Linked DNA regions of Homo sapiens: regions 1 and 2 are each linked to region 3. The links are contacts of gene promoters, found by promoter capture Hi-C in blood cells and fetal thymus (Javierre and others, 2016). All regions are on one chromosome and are shown on one strand. Each heading gives the region's core, a stretch centred on a gene start or on the middle of the fragment in contact. The rest is flanking DNA. Distances are from core to core; before and after follow the strand shown. Region 1 holds the start of CSF3 (colony stimulating factor 3). Region 2 overlaps MED24 (mediator complex subunit 24). Region 3 holds the start of MSL1 (MSL complex subunit 1).

Region 1 (2,909 bases), core at 70-2,569, 110 kb before region 3:
TGGGAGGCCGAGGCGGGTGGATCACGAGGTCAGGAGATCGTGACCATCCTGGCTAACACGGTGAAACCCCGTCTCTACTAAAAATACAAAAAATTGGCCGGGCATGGTGGCGGGCACCTGTAGTTCCAGCTACTCGGGAGGCTGAGGCAGGAGAATGGCGTGAACCCGAGAGGCAGAGTTTGCAGTGAGCCGAGATCGCGCCACTGCACTCCAGCCTGGGCGACAGAGCAAGACTCCATCTGGAAAAGAAAAAGAAAACGTTCAGGTCTGAGCCAGAGGCCCAGGCTGTAATTCTGTCACTTACCATGACCTTGGGCAAGGCACTTCCTTCCCTGGCCCAGTTCACGGGGTTGGAATCGACTCCAAGGTCCCTTCCAGCATTAACGCTGCATGGTTCTAAGATGAGAAGATGGGGCAGTTTCCCCTCTCTCACCCCAGCCCGTGTCCACTTCAAGGTGAATGACCAGGGAAGTCACGTGTCCCAATCCCGCAGTTCCAAAGCCCTTGGGGACCCTACTGTCAGGGTCGTGCACGAGGAGGTGAAGGTCAGGTGAGCCAATCGCCTCGAAGGGTCTTGCCTCATTCGGGACAGACATCCGGTTTCCTCTGGCTCTACCGGGATTCTAGGGGCTTTAGCCGAATGAGTCATGGGGGGCGGGGGGGTTTCTGGGGGAGTTCCCAGCTAATCAACTTGGGACAGGACAGCCTGGAACTTTCGATGGTGCCTATCCAAGTGTGGGGTGGGCACAGCAGCCAAGACCCAATGTCCTTATCTCAGGTAGGGGCTCAGGAGGTCTCCCAGACAGGCAGCCTCCGGAGAGTTTGGGGGTAGGAATGGGAGCAACCAGCTTCTTTTTTTCTCTCTTAGAATTTGGGGGCTTGGGGGACAGGCTTGAGAATCCCAAAGGAGAGGGGCAAAGGACACTGCCCCCGCAAGTCTGCCAGAGCAGAGAGGGAGACCCCGACTCAGCTGCCACTTCCCCACAGGCTGCTGCCGCTTCCAGGCGTCTATCAGCGGCTCAGCCTTTGTTCAGCTGTTCTGTTCAAACACTCTGGGGCCATTCAGGCCTGGGTGGGGCAGCGGGAGGAAGGGAGTTTGAGGGGGGCAAGGCGACGTCAAAGGAGGATCAGAGATTCCACAATTTCACAAAACTTTCGCAAACAGCTTTTTGTTCCAACCCCCCTGCATTGTCTTGGACACCAAATTTGCATAAATCCTGGGAAGTTATTACTAAGCCTTAGTCGTGGCCCCAGGTAATTTCCTCCCAGGCCTCCATGGGGTTATGTATAAAGGCCCCCCTAGAGCTGGGCCCCAAAACAGCCCGGAGCCTGCAGCCCAGCCCCACCCAGACCCATGGCTGGACCTGCCACCCAGAGCCCCATGAAGCTGATGGGTGAGTGTCTTGGCCCAGGATGGGAGAGCCGCCTGCCCTGGCATGGGAGGGAGGCTGGTGTGACAGAGGGGCTGGGGATCCCCGTTCTGGGAATGGGGATTAAAGGCACCCAGTGTCCCCGAGAGGGCCTCAGGTGGTAGGGAACAGCATGTCTCCTGAGCCCGCTCTGTCCCCAGCCCTGCAGCTGCTGCTGTGGCACAGTGCACTCTGGACAGTGCAGGAAGCCACCCCCCTGGGCCCTGCCAGCTCCCTGCCCCAGAGCTTCCTGCTCAAGTGCTTAGAGCAAGTGAGGAAGATCCAGGGCGATGGCGCAGCGCTCCAGGAGAAGCTGGTGAGTGAGGTGGGTGAGAGGGCTGTGGAGGGAAGCCCGGTGGGGAGAGCTAAGGGGGATGGAACTGCAGGGCCAACATCCTCTGGAAGGGACGTGGGAGAATATTAGGAGCAGTGGAGCTGGGGAAGGCTGGGAAGGGACTTGGGGAGGAGGACCTTGGTGGGGACAGTGCTCGGGAGGGCTGGCTGGGATGGGAGTGGAGGCATTACATTCAGGAGAAAGGGCAAGGGCCCCTGTGAGATCAGAGAGTGGGGGTGCAGGGCAGAGAGGAACTGAACAGCCTGGCAGGACATGGAGGGAGGGGAAAGACCAGAGAGTCGGGGAGGACCCGGGAAGGAGCGGCGACCCGGCCATGGCGAGTCTCACTCAGCATCCTTCCATCCCCAGTGTGCCACCTACAAGCTGTGCCACCCCGAGGAGCTGGTGCTGCTCGGACACTCTCTGGGCATCCCCTGGGCTCCCCTGAGCAGCTGCCCCAGCCAGGCCCTGCAGCTGGTGAGTGTCAGGAAAGGATAAGGCTAATGAGGAGGGGGAAGGAGAGGAGGAACACCCATGGGCTCCCCCATGTCTCCAGGTTCCAAGCTGGGGGCCTGACGTATCTCAGGCAGCACCCCCTAACTCTTCCGCTCTGTCTCACAGGCAGGCTGCTTGAGCCAACTCCATAGCGGCCTTTTCCTCTACCAGGGGCTCCTGCAGGCCCTGGAAGGGATCTCCCCCGAGTTGGGTCCCACCTTGGACACACTGCAGCTGGACGTCGCCGACTTTGCCACCACCATCTGGCAGCAGGTGAGCCTTGTTGGGCAGGGTGGCCAAGGTCGTGCTGGCATTCTGGGCACCACAGCCAGGCCTGTGTATGGGCCCTGTCCATGCTGTCACCCCCAGCATTTCCTCATTTGTAATAACGCCCACTCAGAAGGGCCCAACCACTGATCACAGCTTTCCCCCACAGATGGAAGAACTGGGAATGGCCCCTGCCCTGCAGCCCACCCAGGGTGCCATGCCGGCCTTCGCCTCTGCTTTCCAGCGCCGGGCAGGAGGGGTCCTGGTTGCCTCCCATCTGCAGAGCTTCCTGGAGGTGTCGTACCGCGTTCTACGCCACCTTGCCCAGCCCTGAGCCAAGCCCTCCCCATCCCATGTATTTATCTCTATTTAATATTTATGTCTATTTAAGCCTCATATTTAAA
Region 2 (3,123 bases), core at 58-2,557, 89 kb before region 3:
TTGTCTCCATGAGAGTACTTCTTCAACTTCACCAAAACCTGTGGAATCTAGGGGGTGAGGCAGGGGGAAAAACAGGAAGATCCATTTCTTTTCTCTTTCATCTACCCCTGAAGGCATCCCCCCGAACCCCTGCTCCAGGAAGAGAGACAGGAACACTCCTACCCTGGGAGTGAGAGCACACTTAGTGCTAAATGAGAAAGCCAATAGGTGCCCAGGCCCCTGATGCCCCCAGGCCTAGGCACAGGACACAAGCACCCTGCACCTCCGCTAGCTCAACAGAAAAAGATGCCATAAGCAAAAGTGGATCCCCAGCTTCAAGGAGGACTGGGGCCCCTTTCCCTGGCTCCCTTTACTGCCCTGCACCTATCTGTCTGATGACCAAGCTAAACTGCACCTCTGTGGTAAGAAACAACGGAGTCTGCCAAATGGGCTAAATATAGCCCTGGCACTTTCAGAGAAAATGATCAATGGGAACTTGCACTGGAATACCTGGCAGGCTGGGCCCAGTGCCCGCAGGGAGGAACACAGGGCAAAGGTCCAGGGTGCCACTGGTCTTGCTAAGAACCATTCCTAGACTGGCTCTGCCCCTCCCACGTCCCCAGTACCTTGAGGAAAGTGAAAGCTGTCCACTTGAGCTCCTCCGTACCCTCGGGAGACTCAATGAGCCCCACGAAGCAAGCTTTCCAGATCTCCAGGACAAAAAGTGGGGTGGGGATATGCTGTGGGAAGAGCCAAGGATGAGGCCTAAGAGGGTGCCCATACCCCGTCACCCTTCTGTGGACTCTGAGGATTTGGCTGGGTCAGAGACTGCATGGCAGAGTCACTGCTCAGCTATGTGCTGAGAACCAGGGGAGTAAGGTCCAATGACAGAAGTGTGCACGACTGGCACCCACTTTCCATCATGGAGCAGGAGAAACCCCACTTCTCCCAGGGAGAACCAGAAGAATCCTCCCTCCTGCCCCCAACAGGCTGGCCTGCCTTGGAGAAGGGAGAGCCACTCGGCCCCTCCCACCTGCATGCGCTTCACCATCGTCAGCTGCTCCACCAGGGACTGCGTCTCGCCTGTCAGGTTCATGGTGCCCTCGAGCAGGATCACGGCGTGGACAGTGGGGAAGCCGGTCTTGTGCATCTGCTCCGCATGCACAGACAGCATCGTGGGGATGCTGAGGGGTCACAAACACAGGGGACGGTGTTTGGGGGGCCAAAGGTGAAGGCGGAGAGGATGGCACGGGTGCCACATCTTCCTACCCCAGGGCGTGTCCTCCCTCTCCCTTCTCCACCATCCCCCAGGGAGCCGGTACCTCCTAATGAGGGTGCCACACTGCTCGGCCTGACTCCGGAGCTGCGGGTTGCTGAGATTGGCCAGGATCTCTCCAAGTTTCAAGAGAGAATGCTCGATGGCAGTCCAAGAAGCTGGCAGAGGGAAGGAAGTACAGAAACATGATGGGAAACAGGAGAGAAGGAGCACCTGGCCCTGAACTCCTCGATTTTGGCACTCCCTCCGGCACACGAAACCACACAGGAAGGCTTCCCCTGAGGACAACAGGGAGGGAGGGGCCTGAGGGCAGCATGCACTGTTTCCAGAAGGGGGGTGGGCACCTAGAGCTGGAAACCCCAGAGACCATTCCCAAAAGCCTGATTTCCAGGGGACACAGCCAGCTGACTTCAGAAGGTATGGCATCACACAGGCTCAGGAGAGAGAGGCAGAGGGAGGCCAGAATCCAGTGGCTGGAACAGGGAGGGCGGCCACAAATCACTCGAGGAGTGAGCGGATCCCAAAGTCCAGTCTTGCAGAGGCTGTCACTCTCCTCTGGGGGAACTGGGTCCCTAAATGGCTTTCTCATTCTCAACCACTCCCTCATCTAGGCATTGCGTTTGCTGCCCTCCCCTGCTGAAGGCCTCTTACACACTCTCTCTCAAACTCCCACCATGCTCTAAGCTTCTGTTCAAGCCCCAGTTCCTTTAGCAACTCACCCGACTGGTCTAACTCACTGTTCTCTCCTTAATGCCCACACTCATGGTCTAAGCCATATTGGTTAGCACTGAACTATAAGTTACTTATCCTAGTTACAATTCCAGAGGGTCAAATGATGAATAATGGCACCAACTAGCCCATTAACCTCCATGGAGCATAAAAGGGGGAAAAAAAGACAAGACCTGAGATCCATTAAAATTCAGTATTCATCCGATTTTCAGCCAATAAACATTTATCAAGGGCCCAAGGTAGGGAAGAGGCTGTCAACACAGTCCATTTTTATATAAAGATTGTCTTTTTGGACTTTTCACAGGCAGTAAAACATACTTGGGGAAGAAATAAATATACTAGTCCTAAAACAAGCTCTCCAACCAGGTCCTGAAGCCTCGAGAGTAGCCCATTCTAGCATTCTTGTTCCTGGAGAACAAGAGACCTGTAGGTGGTCCCAAGCCACTTGGGCTTCAAGGAGCAAGACTATGGCCTTAGGACCCCATTGCTGGAAATACTGGCATCTTCCCTCCCGCCAGGTGATCTGTCTGTTCTCAGGCTCTGGAAAGTACCCAAACTTAACATCTGAACTTGAGTCAAGAGGCATATGGTACAACAGGCCCAACAGCAGACAGGCACTGTGTTAAAAGGGGCATTTTAGGTAACATTCAAATACAAGAGTCATCTGCTTCCAAGCGATGAGTAACATGGAGACAAACACAATAATGGACACTGTGCTTGTCTTGTCCTCTAGTTTTTTCCTCGTCTGTGATGTACTAGTCTTGCTACCCACTAGCAGCTATGCTTGATGAGGGCAGGGACCCTGCCACATGCTCCTTTGGTAGCCCCCCACCCCCCACCCCCAGCACCTAGCACAGTGCTGGGTATACAACAATGCTCAGTAAATACCTGTTGGTTGATTGGCTCGGGTGCCACCCTGCCCAAGTCCCTGGGATGTGTGCAATGCTTATGGGGAGAAAAAAAAGGAAGTGGGATGGTTTCAGATCCTCCTGGAAAGAGGTGGGATGGCATCCTGCCTCTCCCTTCTCAATTAAAGGACCGGCTATGGGAGCAGCGGCAGGTGGGGCTCAGGGGAATCAAGGGACATACAGGCCTCCTCTAGTTTGGCGATGTGCAGCAGGGCCCGGTTCTTGGTGCTG
Region 3 (2,936 bases), core at 371-2,870:
TGGGGACACAGCAAGACCCCAGTGCCACAAACACACAAGCCTTGACATGGAAAGAGATCACCACATTCTATGTGCCCTCTCATCCCTGCTCACTCCATTACTTGGTGTCCCTAAGCTCAATACTTCCCTTGCTGATCTGAGGCCATACAGTCTGGTGAAAGAGGGCCGGACTCTTGGCTTCTTAACACATTCACATACGTTTGTTTAAAATTTCCAGTGTTTCATGCTTTCAGCCCACAAAGCACAGACACAGTTTTAATGAGAGGTTTTCACATCAGGCCAGAGAATGTCAGTCTTCTCCATCTCCATAGAGATTTTAAAAAGCACACCTCAGACAAAAAAGAAAAACAAGCAATTAAGACTATTTCAGGGCTGGGCACGGTGGCTCACACCTGTAATCCCACCACTTTGGGAGGCCGAGGCGGGCGGATCACCTGAAGTCGGGAGTTCCAGACCAGCCTGACCAAGGAGAAATCCTGTCTCTACTAAAAATACAAAATTAGCTGGGCGTGGTGGCGCGTGACTGTAATCCCAGCTACTCGGGAGGCTGAGGCAGGAGAATCGCTTGAACCCCGGAGGCGGAGGTTGCAGTGAGCTGAATTTCACCATTGCACTCCAGCCTGGGCGACAGAGTGAGAATCCGTCTCAAAAAAAAAAAACGTTTTTTTCACAAGGAATTCTGAGGACTTGTTGGCTCAATTGCTTGGACATAAAGACACACATACATGAAGCTGGAGAGATAGGAAGAAGCGCTCAACACAGAACACCCTAAGTATCCCTACTCCCTTTCAAGGACTAAATCCCTTCAGAGATTTCCTTTGCTTCAGTCCTTCAGGAGCCTCCCGAAGATGCTAGGAGTCGTTTAAGAAGGCTGGAAGATGGCCGTTGGGAAGGAACTGTTGGTAGCTGGCAATACTTCATCCCAAGGAGGCGGTGGCAATAGCTCCCTGGGCAGCAGACATCATGGATTTTCCTCCCTCTGGGAACCAGAGGTCCCTCCGTTTCTGGTTTGAATCCCTTAGAGACAAAGAACTTCATTCTCTCCCATACCCGCGTGGGACTGCTGGGGAGGAGAGGGGGTGGAGGGGTTAGACTTCTACCCCCATGAAACACCCGCGGGCTCAAAGAGGAGCCTGGATCCTGACTGGTCCAGGAGGCGTGCGGGGCCGCGGGGCCCCTCCGGCTTGGGCCAGGCGCGTTGCCAAGATGCCCGGGGAAGGGGCCGCCCGGCGCAGGCCGGGGACGTGGAGCGCTCGGGGCGCTCCCACGTAGGCCACACATTGGCCGCCTGTATCCTCCTTCTTTCCTCTCAACTCCATTCTCTCGCGCTTTTTTCCCGGGGAGCCTCCGCTTTCCCCTTCTTCCCGCGGCCGCCCTCGCCCTTCTTCCCCCTCCAGACCCTCCCCCGGCTCGCCCCTCCCTCGGCAGCCCACCTTCACCCCGCTCCTCCGCGCGCTCCTCGGTCCTCGCCCCTCAGCCCCGGCCTCCCCTCGCCGGCCCCCGGCCCCCGCGGTCCCCTCCCTGCCCCCCTCGAGGCGGCGGCGGCCCCTTTCACAATAGCGCGGCCCGCCTCCCTCCTCTCGGCTCCCGGTGCACTCCCGCCCGCTCCCCTCCCCGCGCATGCGTCCTCCGGTTGGCGGCGGCTGCGGCGGTGGCGGCTACGAGCGGCTCCGTTTTTTTAAAGGGAAACGCTGAGGCGCCGGGGGTGACTGTGGGGGAGGGGGACCCCGAGCCGCGGAGACCCCCGGGAGAGGCGACAGACCCCCTCTCCCGGAGTAGGAGGGCTTTGGGCGGACCCAGCCCTCCACCCCCTCCTGAGGAGGAGGGGGGGGAAATGGAGGCTCGGGGCGGTTGAGGCGAGCTCCGGGGCGGGGGGCCGGGGCGGGGAAGGGGGGGTGCGGGGTGGGGAGACGAGGCGGGCCCGGCCGGGCCAGGGGGGGCCGAAGCGAGCTCCGGGGATGAGCTCGGGGGCGGCTGGGTGCGAGCTCCTGCCTCTGAGGCGAAGGCGGCGGCGGCGGCAGCAGAGGCGGCGGCGAGGCCCCCATGGGCCGGCGGCGGGCCTCAGCCGCGGCCTCCACGTCTCCGCACGCCGGCGGGATGGCGCCCGGGCCCCGGAGGAGCCGCGCTAGCGGAGGCCTGCTGCCGCGCTGCTGAGGCGAGCCCGCCAAACTCCCCTCCCCCCCCTCAGTCCTCGACCCCCCGCACCTCGCCCCTTCCCCACCCCCTCCTCCGCCTCGGTGCCCGGCGCTGCTCCGGACCACTATGACCATGAGATCCGCGGTGTTCAAGGCGGCCGCGGCCCCTGCCGGCGGCAATCCTGAGCAGCGACTGGACTACGAGCGGGCTGCGGCGCTGGGCGGGCCCGAGGACGAGCCTGGGGCGGCCGAAGCCCACTTCCTCCCCCGGCACCGTAAGCTCAAGGAGCCGGGGCCCCCGCTGGCCTCCTCCCAGGGCGGGAGCCCCGCGCCTTCCCCGGCCGGCTGCGGCGGCAAGGGCCGGGGCTTGTTACTCCCGGCCGGGGCGGCCCCCGGGCAGCAGGAAGAGAGCTGGGGCGGTTCGGTGCCCTTGCCCTGTCCGCCCCCGGCCACCAAGCAAGCCGGCATTGGGGGGGAGCCTGCCGCAGCCGGAGCCGGCTGCAGCCCCCGGCCCAAGTATCAGGCGGTGCTGCCCATTCAGACGGGCTCTCTCGTGGCGGCGGCCAAAGAGCCTACGCCCTGGGCTGGGGACAAGGGTGGGGCGGCCTCCCCCGCTGCCACCGCCTCGGACCCGGCGGGACCCCCACCACTACCTCTGCCCGGGCCGCCACCCCTCGCGCCCACCGCCACCGCCGGGACCCTGGCGGCCAGCGAGGGCAGATGGAAGAGTATGAGGAAGAGCCCTCTCGGGGGTGGTGGCGGCTCGGGAGCCTCCAGTCAGGCCGCCTGCCTCAAACAGAT

What was found. Contacts are between HindIII fragments. The CHiCAGO score rates a contact against its expected background, and 5 or more counts as called.
Region 1: the fragment with the promoter of CSF3 here is called in contact with the fragment with the promoter of MSL1 in region 3 in 4 of 17 cell types (erythroblasts, M2 macrophages, endothelial precursors and 1 more); the score reaches 6.7 in erythroblasts.
Region 2: a fragment that was not itself captured here is called in contact with the fragment with the promoter of MSL1 in region 3 in 10 of 17 cell types (endothelial precursors, erythroblasts, M0 macrophages and 7 more); the score reaches 9.4 in endothelial precursors.

Annotation. Positions count from the first base shown.
Region 1 is chr17:40,014,121-40,017,029 of GRCh38, forward strand. CSF3 (colony stimulating factor 3) reads left to right here and starts at 1,320. Exons shown (of 5, transcript NM_172219.3): 1 at 1,320-1,394; 2 at 1,571-1,725; 3 at 2,113-2,220; 4 at 2,365-2,511; 5 at 2,675-2,909. The coding sequence starts at 1,355. The coding sequence ends at 2,839. It overlaps PSMD3-AS1 (PSMD3 antisense RNA 1), which reads right to left and starts at 521. Exons shown (of 3, transcript NR_198981.1): 1 at 434-521; 2 at 118-239. RefSeq lists an enhancer at 1,230-1,729. The HindIII fragment of the contact is 16,036 bases long and covers 1-2,909 here.
Region 2 is chr17:40,032,044-40,035,166 of GRCh38, forward strand. MED24 (mediator complex subunit 24) reads right to left here. Exons shown (of 26, transcript NM_014815.4): 6 at 3,074-3,123; 7 at 1,302-1,413; 8 at 1,013-1,163; 9 at 606-719; 10 at 1-47. Among named protein-coding and RNA genes, the nearest start is that of SNORD124, 6.0 kb to the left of the region's middle. The HindIII fragment of the contact is 1,260 bases long and covers 678-1,937 here.
Region 3 is chr17:40,120,351-40,123,286 of GRCh38, forward strand. It overlaps MSL1 (MSL complex subunit 1), which reads left to right and starts at 1,621. Exons shown (of 9, transcript NM_001365919.1): 1 at 1,621-2,936. The coding sequence starts at 2,263. It overlaps LOC124904001 (a long non-coding RNA gene), which reads right to left and starts at 1,490. Exons shown (of 2, transcript XR_007065752.1): 1 at 1,434-1,490; 2 at 179-1,063. RefSeq lists silencers at 1,072-1,231, 1,462-1,661, 1,702-1,911, 1,972-2,111, 2,212-2,261 and 1 more and an enhancer at 2,462-2,936. The HindIII fragment of the contact is 11,445 bases long and covers 1-2,936 here.